Regions from separate parts of the Homo sapiens genome. Here region 2 is linked to region 1. The links are contacts of gene promoters, found by promoter capture Hi-C in blood cells and fetal thymus (Javierre and others, 2016). All regions are on one chromosome and are shown on one strand. Each heading gives the region's core, a stretch centred on a gene start or on the middle of the fragment in contact. The rest is flanking DNA. Distances are from core to core; before and after follow the strand shown. Region 1 holds the start of ITGB5 (integrin subunit beta 5). Region 2 overlaps KALRN (kalirin RhoGEF kinase).

The links. Contacts are between HindIII fragments. The CHiCAGO score rates a contact against its expected background, and 5 or more counts as called.
Region 2: a fragment that was not itself captured here is called in contact with the fragment with the promoter of ITGB5 in region 1 in 1 of 17 cell types (endothelial precursors); the score reaches 5.9 in endothelial precursors.

Annotation. Positions count from the first base shown.
Region 1 is chr3:124,882,278-124,889,306 of GRCh38, forward strand. It overlaps ITGB5 (integrin subunit beta 5), which reads right to left and starts at 5,088. Exons shown (of 15, transcript NM_002213.5): 1 at 4,654-5,088. The coding sequence starts at 4,723. RefSeq lists silencers at 1,125-1,419, 4,477-4,566, 5,027-5,466 and enhancers at 2,928-3,812, 5,581-6,463, 6,464-7,029. The HindIII fragment of the contact is 6,734 bases long and covers 2,039-7,029 here.
Region 2 is chr3:124,562,795-124,568,823 of GRCh38, forward strand. It overlaps KALRN (kalirin RhoGEF kinase), which reads left to right. Exons shown (of 60, transcript NM_001388419.1): 34 at 49-295. All of the region lies in intron 2 of LOC105374076 (a long non-coding RNA gene), which reads right to left. Among named protein-coding and RNA genes, the nearest start is that of UMPS, 160 kb to the right of the region's middle. RefSeq lists an enhancer at 2,148-2,442 and a silencer at 2,148-2,442. The HindIII fragment of the contact is 3,603 bases long and covers 1-3,306 here.

The DNA.
Region 1 (7,029 bases), core at 3,838-6,337:
GAAGATATGTAGTTACATTAGATGGTGGTGAGTGCTAAGGACAAAAATTAAAGAAGAAAAGCAGATAAAAAGAACTCGGGATATAGGGAGGAGGTTGCAGCTTTAGCTGGGAGCGGCCAGGGAAAACTTGGCTGAGCAGGAGATGCTAGAAAAAGGGTTGCAGGGTGGAGGAAGCCGGTCATGCAGATATCTTGGAGGACAGTATTCCAGGCAGGGAGAAGGGCTGCCATGGGAGCATGGCTGGCACGCTGAAGGGACAGTGGGAGGCCCATGCTGCTGGAGCAAAGGATCGAAGGGAAAGTGGTGAAGGAAAGTCAGAGAAGTAGGTGGAGAGTTCGTGGAGCCTGGCAGGACTCTGGGAAACCATTCGAAGGTTTTAAGCAGAGAGATATGATCTGACTTGAGTTGGATCTCAGGATCACTCTGAGGGACAGTTGAGAATAACTAAAGAGAACAAGTTGCAGAAGTAGGTCCCAGCTCTACAAGAGACAACCAGCTCTGAAAATGTCTGGCTGGAGTTGGGGAGGGAATCCTATAAAGAGAGGGCAGGGTACCCCGCAGTGCCTTCAAAGCATCAGCCTTAGGGGATGAGTCAAGCCTGTCTTAGAGCAAACTTTTCACCATGAGGCCCGGGAAGTAAACCCTGCATTCAACGGAAGCAAGAAGCCTCAGAAACAAATGGGTGCCTCTAAATAAAGCATTCCTTTACATTTATAGAGGCCATTAATCCCATTCGAACCGGAAAGAAGGAAAACAAACCACGGCAGTCAGTTCTCCAAGGCCCTCGGCTCCAGCCAACTGGAAATACCTGTGAAAAGAGACCCTATCCCATTAACCCAGCTGCACACTGCCATGTGAAAGGGGCCCTATTATTTAAGTAGTTTGTAATTGTCCCACATTACTGATATCGTTAAAGCATCTCAGAATATTTCCATGGCCAGGCTGAATAAGAAAAAGTAGTTACCAGGCCACGCAGGCACAAAAGGCCTTTTGCCAAACTACTTAGATATTTTAATTCCCCGTTGCCTCAGTAGCTAAATAAGCATGGAGAACAAGCAGGCGGGGAATACTAATTAGAGCTAATTAGACCCTGCCCTCTTCTGCCTCAATCCCCTTTATAAAAAGCTCCCCCAACTCAAGGATGATGGAGTTAAAATGTAAATCCATAGGATAAACAGCAGTCTACAGACCAAACCCACTGTTTGTATTTCATTGTCCTGTCAGCTCTAAACCTGTGCCTGGTTACCTACAGAGAGCTGCAGACCCAGCCAAATTCCAACAACCCCATCACAGACCACAGGAAATGTGGTAGGGGGTTGGGGGTAGAGGAAGGGTGCTGCCAACATGAGTCCACTAAATAAAACAAAGGGCTTTCTTAGGATGTGCAGAGCATTCACTAGAAGAACATTCGATTGCTTTTTTAAAAAGAAATGAATGTGATAGCACACATAATTCCAGCGGTGTTGCAGGATCCTCTTTATAAGACGGTGTTCCTCTCTCTGTCTTAGCAAAGGCAGCGTGGAAAAGCCTCACCTCAGTGAGACCCCTGGTTTTGTGGGAAGACCACATCCTAGGATTCTGTCTGAAGGCTCTTGGCCATAAGATAATAAAAAGAGCAGGAGATAGCCCTTGGTGGGGACGGGAGGGGGTTGTCAGCCGGCCAGGGACTTGTTTGAAATGAGCCCCTGAAACCTAAGGTCAGTTTCCTGCTGGAAATCCGTACTGAGATGAAAGTGGGGTTAGAGCAACAGAGAGAGGCACTCAACCACTGGTCCAGGAACACCCAGGCAGGCATGGCCCTGAGGGTCATCTCTTTCTTTTCTCTGAGTAACTAGGTTTTTTTCTTTCAAATAATGTTCCTAGTGGCAAGACAGAAACACTCCCTGAATAAAGTACCTGTAGTGCTTCAAGAAAACAAAGAAGGGAAGGGAAGCAAAAAAAAAAAAGAAAAAAAAAAAGAATGTTGAAGTTAATTCAGCAACACTGAAAAACTAGGAGAAATGACACAGATGTGAGTCAACCTCTGCTAATCCTGAGAAGCTTCAGGGCCCTAAGAGGTAAGCAGCAAGTTCTGGAGGCCAGTGCCATGGCTTGCTCCACCACCACCACCACCAAAACCTGTAGTCAAAGAGATGGGCAGAGGCCAGCCGTGGTGGCTCACACCTGTAATCCTAGCATTTTGGGAGGCCGAGGCGGGCGGATCACCTGAGGTTGGGAGTTAGAGACCAGCCTGACCAACATGGTGAAACCCTGTCTCTACTAAAAATACAAAATTAGCCAGGCGTGGTGGTACATGCCTGTAATCCCAGTTACTCAGCAGGACAATCACTTGAACCTGAGAGGCAGAGGTTGTGGTGAGCTGAGATCATGCCACTGTACACCATCCTGGGCAACAAGAGTGAGACTCTGTCTCAAAAAAAAAGAAAAGAAAAGATAGGCAATGGGAAAACAGGACCCCAAAAGAGTTGCAAATGAACCACCATGCTCAGTGCTTTTCTCTTCCTTAAGCTGAGTCGGTAGGACAAAGGGCACTGGACCAAAAGCCATGGTCCCTGGTCCACCACTCCTGACCCAAGTAGAGGGGAAGGGCAAGTCACTTCCTTCCTGAGCCCATATGAGAAAATGGACATCACCGTGAAGATGTACGTGAACTCTGAAAAAGAGAAAGCAAGATGCAAGTGGAAAATAATGTATTTTTAGAAATTATTCGCAGCCAGGCGTGGTGGCTCATGCCTGTAATTGAAGCACTTTGGGAGGCCAAGGCAGTTAGATCACCTTAAGTGAGGAGTTCAAGACCAGCCCAGCCAACATGGTGAAACCCCATCTCTACTAAAAATACAAAAATTAGCCGGGCATGGTCGCAGCGCCTGTAATCATTGCTACTTGGGAGGCTAAGCCAGGAGAATTGCTTGAACCTGGGAGGTGGAGGTTGCAGTGAGCCGAGATGGCACCACTGCACTCCAGCCTGGGCTACAAGACTGAAACTCTGACTCAAAAAAAAAAAATTATTTGCAACTAGAAATTATTATTATAATTCTGTTTGTCAGAATTACAGAATGTCAAGCTGGAAAGGAACTTAAAAGCCATCTCCTTTGGCAGTTTCTGAACTTTTGGATTTCAAAGAAAACTAAGATTTAAAAACAAAACAAAAGAAACAAACAGAAAAAGAGAAGGGGAGCTTAACATAGGGTTGTCAGATTTTCTTATTTTGCCAAAATTAAAAACTACTAATATTATTAAGAAGTATTAAAAGAAAATGTTCCCACCAAAAAAAGAAAAAGTGCCTAATTTCAAACTAAAGGAAAGTCCTTGTGGAGCAGGGGAGCGTTGACAACAATACATTCCTGTGTGATGCAGGCTACATCTTCCTGCTCCTCGCTTTCCCTAGGGACCCATGAAAATATCCGTGATGGGCACTGGCTGCCGGATGGGTGTTTGGAATCCACTCATCTACTCTCCAAGCTCTGGAGTGATTATTTTCCCATTTAAAACAAAAACCAAAAACCTTGCTACAGTATTAAGTTTGAATTAGGGTCTGAACGAAGTTATTGTTTGCTCAGACCCCTCCTCCGCTCTTAAACCTAAACCTCCACTGCCTTCATGTAAATGAGACACCGTGGGGGAACAGTCCTCCCTTCGGGCAGCCAGGCAACCACTTGGCTCACAAGAGCAATCAAGTATCTCCGGCTTGAAAGTTAATAGAGCACTATTATTTCCTAAAAGAAAGGAGAAAATCCGCATCCCAAACAAGTGCATCCTTCCTCGAGGGCCTCCAAACTACCACGTCCAATCATCTCCCAACTCTGAAAAGTTAGAGCAGGTAACCGAGGGATCCTTGCAACGCTGCCAGCCCACCGCAGCGTCGGGCTAAGGCAATCTCCACAGCCCCTGTCCTCTGCTCCAGAATCCTCCACAGTTAGGGGAGTGTGAGGCTCCGAGCGTGTGCAAATCGCGGGATAAAGTCGGGCAGAAGGAATTTAATAGGGAAGTCCCAGGTGGGGCTGTGGTTTGGGACGCGGGTGCCCCCTCGGGTTTGCGGTGGCCTAGGCGAGGAGGAAGCAGGCGGGGGGCGGGGAGGGTGGGGGCTGCATCTTCAAAGGCAGGCGGCTAGCCTAGGCGCAGCGAACTCCAGGATTCGCTGTGGGCCCTGTGCACCCGCTGTTCCAGGAGGCGAGCCCTCCGGAGTGGAGGTGGCCCCGGGCTTTGGCTGGGGTTTCGAGACTCCCTTGCTTCTCCGGGAACAGGGCACCGACGGCATCCCCCCAGCAGCCCGCCCGCTCCCGGCCGGCCACAAGGACCGCTTTGTGCCCGCCAACGGAGAGCCCGGGCCCCAAGGCAGGGCTGGCGGCGGTCCTCCCCGTGCCCTGGGCGCGGGCCCTGGCGGGCTAGGTCAGCAGGCCGGCCAGCCTGTTTACACAGGAAGGGAAGCTCCTCCTCAGCCCGGGAGGGAACAGGAGACTCACGACAGCCCGGCGGGGCTGCGCGCGGGGAGCGCCCCGCGGGGCTGTCCCCCAGCGACTGGCCCACCAGGGAGTGCCCCGAAGGCGCCCTCCGCCCTCAGGCACCGCCTGCGCTCCCCGCCCCTCCGAGACGCCCGCCCGCGGCTGAGTGTGCGACAAAGTTTCTCTGGGCGCCGTGGGCGGCGCGGCTTACCTGCGAGCCGGGGCAGGAGCGCGCAGAGCCCCAGGAGGCAGGCGTACAGCGGCGCCGGGGCCCGCGGCATGGTGGGGCGCCTCCCTCAGCGGCGGCGCGGTCGCTGCACTCCGCGGGGGCCGGCGGCCGGGGCTGGGGCCGGAGCGCGGGGGCCGAGGGCCGGGGGCCGCAGCCGCATGCCCCGCGCGCAGCTCCGGCTCACGGCGCCCGCGCTGGCCCGCGCCCCGCCGCCACCATCCGTCCCGCAGCACTCACGGCCGAGTCCCGGGACCGCGGCTGCCCTGGCTGGCCGGCCGGGACTCCTAGTGTGTCGCCGCTCGGGACGGCCCCAGCGGGCTGCTCCGGGTAGGGGAGGGGCTGGCTCCGCTCGGCGGCCGCGACTTGGGCTCCGAGACGCGCCCAGCGCCGAGACTCCCCCGCGCGCCGGCACACTCTGCCCCTGGCCTCCGCCCCTTCCCTTCCTCCCTCCGGCCCGCCAGGCTCCACTTTCCTCCTCTCCTTTCTCCTCCCCTTCTCTCCCCTGCCAGGCCCTCGCCCGGCCGCCACACGGTCAGCTTACGGTGAGGCGGGGCGGGGCGAGCTCCGGGCCGGGCCAGCTCCGCCCTGTGCGGGGACCGGCCCGGGACGCGGAGGCCCTACGGGCCCAGGTGGAAGTCGCTTGCGACTCACTTGGGGCGTGGGGGGCTCGAAACCACTGAGTAGAGCCCGCTCCCGTTGCTTAGCCGCCCGTCGCCACGGGAAAGGGGCGGGGCACGCTGTATTAGGCGAGCCGAGATTACTTGGGCCAAAGGCGGTTGCTAGACTGCGAGAGGGAGAGCAGGTACGGGGGTCGTGCCGGTACCGCCTCATCCTCCCAAAGCCTCACTGCCGGCGGCCTGAGATGGGACGTAGACGCCCGCGCGTGGAACCGCAAAGCGACTTCTGGATGAGCAAGGGAGGGCGTGGTGGGGCGTGGAGGCACAAGTAAAACCTACATTTCTTTTTCTTTTCTTTTTTTTTTTTTTTTGAGACAGCGTCTTGCTCTCACTCAGGCTGGAGTGCACTGGCCCAGTCTTGGCTCACTGCAGCCTGGACCTCCTGGGCTCAAAGGTTCCTCCACCTTAGCCTCCTGAGTAACTGGGACTACAGGCGCGCGCCACCACACCCGGACAATTTTTACATGTTTTGTAGAGATGGGGGTCTCGCTGTGTTGCTCAGGTTAGTCTTGAACTCCTGGGCTCAAGCATTCCTCCTGTGTCTGCCTCCTAAAGTGCTGAGATTACAGGTGCGAGCCACCGTGCCCGGCCCACTTTTCACTTTTTAACTTTTGCACCTTTCAAGGATTTGAGACTGGCCAATATGCCGCTATATTTCGTTGTCCTTACTGATAATCTGTCAGTTTCCATGATCAAACTGATAGACTCAAAAACATATGCTCAGGCTTTCATCTTATCATTTACATATAAGCTGGATCTGAACTAGCCAATAAAGAGTGGGGTGGGGTCTTCCTCAGATGGTGCAGGAAAGGATGCCTTGGGCTTGGATTCGCTACAAGTGCGTTTAGAGTGGAGTGGTTGATAGGCAAGAGAAGAGGCGACATTCAGGTAGGGGAAAATAACGATAGAATACCTACCAAGTACAGAGAGCACACTGCCAGCCAGGCACTGTTCTAAGTCCTTTACCCATATTAACTCATTTCATCCTCCGACAACCCTACTGTTATCCAGTTGAGGAACCGAGGGACAGAGGGGTTAACTGCTGGAGGAAGTGACAGCTAGGATGCCTCGTTCAAAAGTGCAGCATGGCTTGGCTAAAACTGAAGCAGTAAGGGGGAAAGAACAAAGGGGTCTCACCTTTGCAGGCCAGGGACCTGGTGGAAGAATGGCTTGGAGGGCCCAGTGGAAAACTGTCCTAACTGCCCAGCTCAAGGAGTTTGGATGTTAACCTTTATTTCTTGGCCTCCTCCCAAACTCTAACAAGGTGGTGCCTCAATGCCTGAGGAAGTAAACTTCTTGAAGTACAATATAGTGTGCCTGGGGGCAAAGATGCAGCAGTCCATAGCAAGCTCCTTTATAGTATTTGTGAAAGGAAAATAAATCTCAGGGCCCCCAAATCACTAAGCCAGGAGAAAAATCAAGCTGGGAACCGTGTCAGGCAAACCTGCCTCCCATTTTATGCCTAATTAAGATAGCTAAGAAGCTACATACCTCCCTCACAATTTACCCACAGGAAATTCCTTTTGGACAAAGGACAGACAGAACTCAAAGTCATCCCTCTGAGGCTCACCTGAGACAAATGAATACCTGATTGCTCCCTCTGGCCTATTGTTTATGTAAAAATGCAGATTCACTGAGCCAGACTAAATTGTGTATTCAGTGGAAGGCTGATCAAGGACCC
Region 2 (6,029 bases), core at 255-2,754, 320 kb before region 1:
TTCCTCCATGCCCTCCTGTTCTACTCCCTCCACCACCACCCTCCAAAGCTCTCTGGTGGATGTGAGCTGACAGTGGTCCTCCAGGACTTCAGTGCGGGCCACAGCAGTGAGCTGACCATCCAGGTGGGGCAGACGGTAGAGCTGCTGGAGCGGCCCAGCGAGCGGCCTGGTTGGTGTCTGGTCCGTACCACCGAACGGAGCCCGCCCTTGGAGGGTCTGGTCCCCAGCAGCGCCCTGTGCATCTCACACTCCCGAAGCAGCGTGGAGATGGACTGCTTCTTCCCCTTGGTGAAAGGTAGGAGAACAGAGCGGGTGGGAGGCACAGACCAAGGAGGCCATGAGCGCTGGCCTGACTCTAGCTGAAGACCACCATGGAAGTGACCTGTCTCACAGACCCATTTTTACCCTGTGGGGTTTCTTTGGGACCTGACTGTGAAGAGAATGGGTTGGGAACTTGGAGAGGAAGAGCTCCCGAGTAACTGTGTGTGACTTTGGGAAAGTCATTTAGCCTTCCTGAGTCAGTTTCATCTTGGAAATGAAGGTTGAATTAAGTAACCTCCAAGATCTCTTCCAGTTTTCCCATCATATCACACTACATTCGGGAAAGTCCTCTTCTACCTTTGGCCAAATATGGTTTAGACTCATCCTTTCTCCACTGACCCACTCCCGCTCCACAGCAACTTCTGGCTCTCTGACCCCCGACCAAGTACTCACATGCTGACCTGGAGACACCAGGCACACCCAGGGAGGAGCCACAGCTGAGTCAGATCTGATCCTTCCCTCAGCCCAGCCAGGCTTTGAGGTCCATGACTCCTTTATGTGCCTTCAACAGATAAAGTATTCTAGCCTTGGCTTTTATTGTATGTAAGCTCTGTGTTCCCTTCACATGCCTGTTTACTCACTTTTTCTCATGCCAGGGAGACTAAACTCCTCATGACAGTGTTTCTTTAGGGGTGGTCTCTGGATTAGTAATATCAGCATGCCCTGGGAACCTGTTAGAAATGCAGGTGCCAGCCTGGGCAACTTAGTGAGACCCTGTCTCTACAAAAATTTAAAAATGCAAGGCGGCACATACCTGTAGTCCCAGCTACTTGGGAGGCTGAGGCAGGAGAATCACTTGAACCCGAGAGGCTGAGGTTGCCATGAGGCTGCAGCAAGCCAAGATTGTGCCACTGCACTCCAGCCTGGGCAACAGAGCGAGACTCTGTCTCAAAAAAAAAAAAAAAAAAATTAAAAAAATTAGCTGGGCAAAATACAAAAATTAGCCGGGCATGGTGGCGCACGCCTGTAGTCCCAGCTACTCGGGAGGCTGAGGCAGGAGAATGGCGTGAACCCGGGAGGCGGAGCTTGCAGTGAGTCGAGATCGCGCCACCGCACTCCAGCCTGGGCGACAGAGCGAAACTCCGTCTCAAAAAAAAAAAAAAAAAAAAAAAAAAATTAGCTGGGCAAGGTGGTGTTCACTTGTAGTTCCAACTACTCAGGGCATGGTGAGGCAGGAGGATCACTTGAGCCCAGGAGTTTGAGGCTGCAGTGAGCTATGATTGCATCGCTGCGCTCCAACCTGGCTGACAGAGAAAGACCGCACCTCTAAAAATAAAAAATCAAAGTTAAAAGCCAGGTACAGTGGCTCACACCTGTAATCCCAACACTTTGGGAGGCTGGCTTGAGGCTAGGAGTTTGAGACCAGACTGGGCAACATAGTGAGACCCCCATCTCTACAAAACTAAAAAATTTTAGCCAGGCATGGTGGCACACACCCATAGTTCCAGCTACTCAGTGGGGGGCTGGGGCAGGAGGATCATTTGAGCCTGGGAAGACAAGATTACAGTAAACCATGCTTGCACCACTGCACTCCAGACTGGGTGACAGAGCAAGGTCCTGCCTCAAAAAGTGTTTTTAAATTTAATTTTAAAAAAGAAAGAAACGCAAATGATCAGAACCCCCACTCCTCCAGAGCCGGTGGGTCCCAACAGTCTGTATTTTAACAAGCCTTCCAGGTGGCTCTGATGCACATTTGAGTTTGAGATCCACTGACTTGTGAAGTCCAAGTGGCAGAGGCCTTGCAGCCAAGCATTTTACACTGAGGAAGCCAAAGCCAGGCCTTAGTTCTGGGCTTATTTTTGTAACTGGCCAGATAATCAGCAGCAGGCATGCCTTCTATGCAGACCTGTGCTAGATATTTCTAGGAGAGGAAGATGGGGACGAGGGTCAGCATGGAGACCTGCTGCAGGCTTCCTGATGGTTAACTGTGAACTCAGAACATATTTAAAACACTCCGGTGTCTGGAGTGCCATCTGGTCTACCTCCAAAGCCTGACTTCCTTTCCTCCACTAGATGGCAGCAGCAGGCTGAATTGTTTGTGCTGCATCCAGCCTTCCAGGGTTTTTTCCACCAGGAGAAAAATGTCAGCTAAGACCGACGTCCTAATTCTCCTCGTGCCCTCCACTCCCAATTTAATCATTGCCTGCTTTCCCCCCTGTCCTCTGAGGACTAAGGAGGGACTGTGTCAGGAAGTTGTGTGGGAATTTGAAATTGCAGGCACAAGAGGAAAATCAAGGAAACTCAGGAATCTGGTTCCGCTTGAAGTCTAGCCAAGAGGAGAAGAGGGTACACAGAAGGTAGATTGTGAGGGTAAAATGAGGTAATGGAGACAAAACACAGCAGTGCCTGGCATTCAATGCACTTTAGTTGTCATGATAAGTTTTTGCTATTATATCATTTGCCATAGATTATCCAGCAAAATAACTACACACTCCCACAAGTCCAGTTGAGAGACCCATCTGCAGAGACAAAATCAAGCACAGCAATTCATTTGCCGCAAAAGGCTAACGTTCCTTGGATCCCCAGGTGTGGGTCGTTTTCATCAGGAGGGACTCAGCTTCAAGGGAAGATGAGACTTCCTGACCTAGACCTGGCCTCCTAGCCTGAGGCTGGGTAAAATGTGCACTCCCTCCCTGCTGGGGCTGCCACATGTGCAACTTCGCAGGAGCAAACCCAAGGTGGAAAGCCAGAGAGCAGTGTCAGAGTCAATCTGTGATCCCGAAGTGGGAGGTGGAAGCATTCAGGGTAAGAATTGCACAGGACTGGGGGTTGTCTCGACTATAGGACAGATTAGTGGAGATTTAACTAAAAATAGGAGATGAAGACCAGGAATGGAAAATAGAGGCAAGAGACAAAGCTGGGAGGGAGGCTGTCATAGAACTTTCCAGCTAATTCTGCCAACCAGCATAGCTTCTTAAAGGTACCAGCAGTGCCTATCACCCATTTCTTTGGCTTTTTATTTCCAGGTTGGTTCCTGTTTCCCCAAGCTTAGGCCAATTATGCTGAGCTTTCAAATGGCATCCTGTGAGGTCTTACTATCTTCTCACCCATGTGAGCTCTGAATACAGAGGTCCCCGACTCCCAACAGTCAAGGACCTAAGTCGGCCAGGCGCAGTGGCTCACTCCTGTAATCCCAGCACTTTGGGAGGCTGAAGCAGGTGGATTGCTCAGGCTCAGGCGTTCGAGACCAGCCTGGGCAACATGGCGAAACCCTGTCTCTACAAAAAAAATTTAAAAATTAGCCAGGTGGGGTGGTGTGCACCTATATAGTCCCAGCTACTCAGGAGGCTGAGGTGGGAGGATCACCTGACCCTGGGAGGCTGAGGCTGCAGTGAGCCATGATCATACCACTGTGCTCCAGCCTGGGTTGCAGAGTGAAACCCTGTCTCAAAAAAAAAAAAAAAGGACCTAAGTCTGCATTCTCCATGGAGCACTCCTTATGCCCTTAACTAGACCCCATTTGAAAGTGTGTGCAGTTATGCACATAGCCCAGCCTCAAAACCCTTTCCCTGTCTCTCTGGGGTCTGCCCAGAGTGTTGGCCTTAGCTAAGACCCAATAAGCTATTCCTTCTCTTATTCCAGCTGGCTGCCTGCTTGGCAAACCGCCTTTTCTTCTCTCAGCAGTAATTTGTCTCCAGTGGGTGCTTTACCTTATAAGTTATGCACAACTAGATTGAGAATAAAATGTTCCTCTGGGGGTTGTGGAATAGGACAGAGTGGTCTCATCTGGTGTCAGGAGGTTGGAATCAATTCCTTTTTCAATTCCCATAAGAGAACTGGTCCTCTTAGCATTTGCAGAGAGCACCAAGTCAGCACTCTTGCAGGCTGTGTGAAGCAGGGACTATGTGTGAGGGCTAAGCACCTTGTGAGTGCTCAGGCCATGACTATCACCCCAGAAATGGGGACAAAAGAACCACAGGATGGTTCTTGATGATCCACTAGCACAGGGTTCCCAACGCTGGCTGCACATGAGAATCATCTGGGAGCTTTTCCAAATGACAATGCCCAGACCCCACCTAGAACAAATGGAATCAGAATCTCTGGATGGGGCCTGAGGGTCAGTATTTTTAAGTGTTCCATAGGTGAATCTAAGGTGCAGTCAGGGTTGAGAACCACTGCACTAGCCCGGTCTCCTCTCTTCCAAGAGAACACTCAGGCTCAGGAAAGCAAGGTGACCTCCCTGAAGCCACAGGGAGTCTGTGGCCAAGCTGGAGCAGACCAGGGCTCCCAGCACCTGTTGAGCTTCTGGGTAGTGCTAGGGCTCCTCTCTGCCCTTCCCTCCTCTGCCTTCTGTGGGAGCAGTGGTTGGTTATTTCCTCCTGATAAGTCTTGGTGTCATTCATGATGGGGTTGGTGAAAAAGAGTGGGGCTGTGTGTCAGAATTGGGGTGGGGCTGCCTTTCCTGCTACTTTACTGCCACTCTGACATCTTAGGGCTTCTCACTGGGATTGGGCCCTCCAGCCCTAGTCCTGCCTTTCCACAGGCCCCTCTCACTTTCACAGCAGCAGGTGGTGGAGGGCAGCACCTCCCAAGAGGCAAGCCTTTGTAGCAGTGGTTTCCAACTCTGGATGCACCTTAGAAACCACCTGGAGGAGGTTTCTAAAAATACTGATGCCTCATATCCACCCCAGAACAATTAATCCAGCTGCCAAGGACCTGGACATCAGTATATTTTTAAGTTCTTTTGTGAAAAAAATAAAAAGAAAAAAATTAGCCGGGCATAGTGGCATGCACCTGTAGTCCCAGCTATTCAGGAGGCTGAGATGGGAGGATTGCTTGAGCCTGAGGGTTCAGGGCTATAGTGAGCTGTGTTCACGCCACTGCACTCCAGCCTGGGCAAAAGAGTGAGACTCTATCTCAGGGGGAAAAAAAAAGAAGAAGAACAAACTTAGTGATTCTGATGTTCCCTTAGGGTTGAGAACCACTGCTTTGTGGACTCAGCACCCCCAGGGTGTCAAGCTTAGGAGATACTTAAAGATGTATTAGAAAGGTTGAGGGTTAATGTCCAGATTATATAAAGAACTCCTGCAACTCAACAACAACAACCAAAAACTAAATTTAAAAATGGACAAAGGACTTAAACAGAAATTTCTCCAAAGAAGATATACAAGTGACCAATAAGTACATGAAAAGATATTCAACATCACTAATTATTGCTAGGAAAATGATAATCAAAACAACAATAACATGTCACTGCAAAGGATGGCTATTGTTTAAAATGTGCACACACAGAAAATAACAAGTGTTATGAGGATGTGGAGAAATTGGAACCCTTGTACACTGCTGGTGGGAATGCAAAATGGTACAGCTGCCATGGAAAACAGTATGGGATTCCTCAAAAAAGTAAAAATAAGATTATCATATCATCTAGCAATCCAACATCTGAGTATATATCCAAAGGAATTGAAAGCAAGGACACAAGCAGAAATTTGTACACCCATGCTCATAGCAGCATTATTCACAATAGTCAAAAGGTGAAAGCAACCCCAGTGTCCAGCAACAGGTGAATTGAATATATACATACAATGGGATACTCTTCAGCCTTAGAAAGTTAGGAAATTCTAACACATGCCACAACATGAATGAACCTTGAGGACATTAGGATAAGTGAAACAAGCCAGACACAAAAGGACAAATACTATATGATTCCATTTAAATGAAATACCTTGAGTAGTCAACTTTTTAGATGTAGAAAGAATGATGATTGC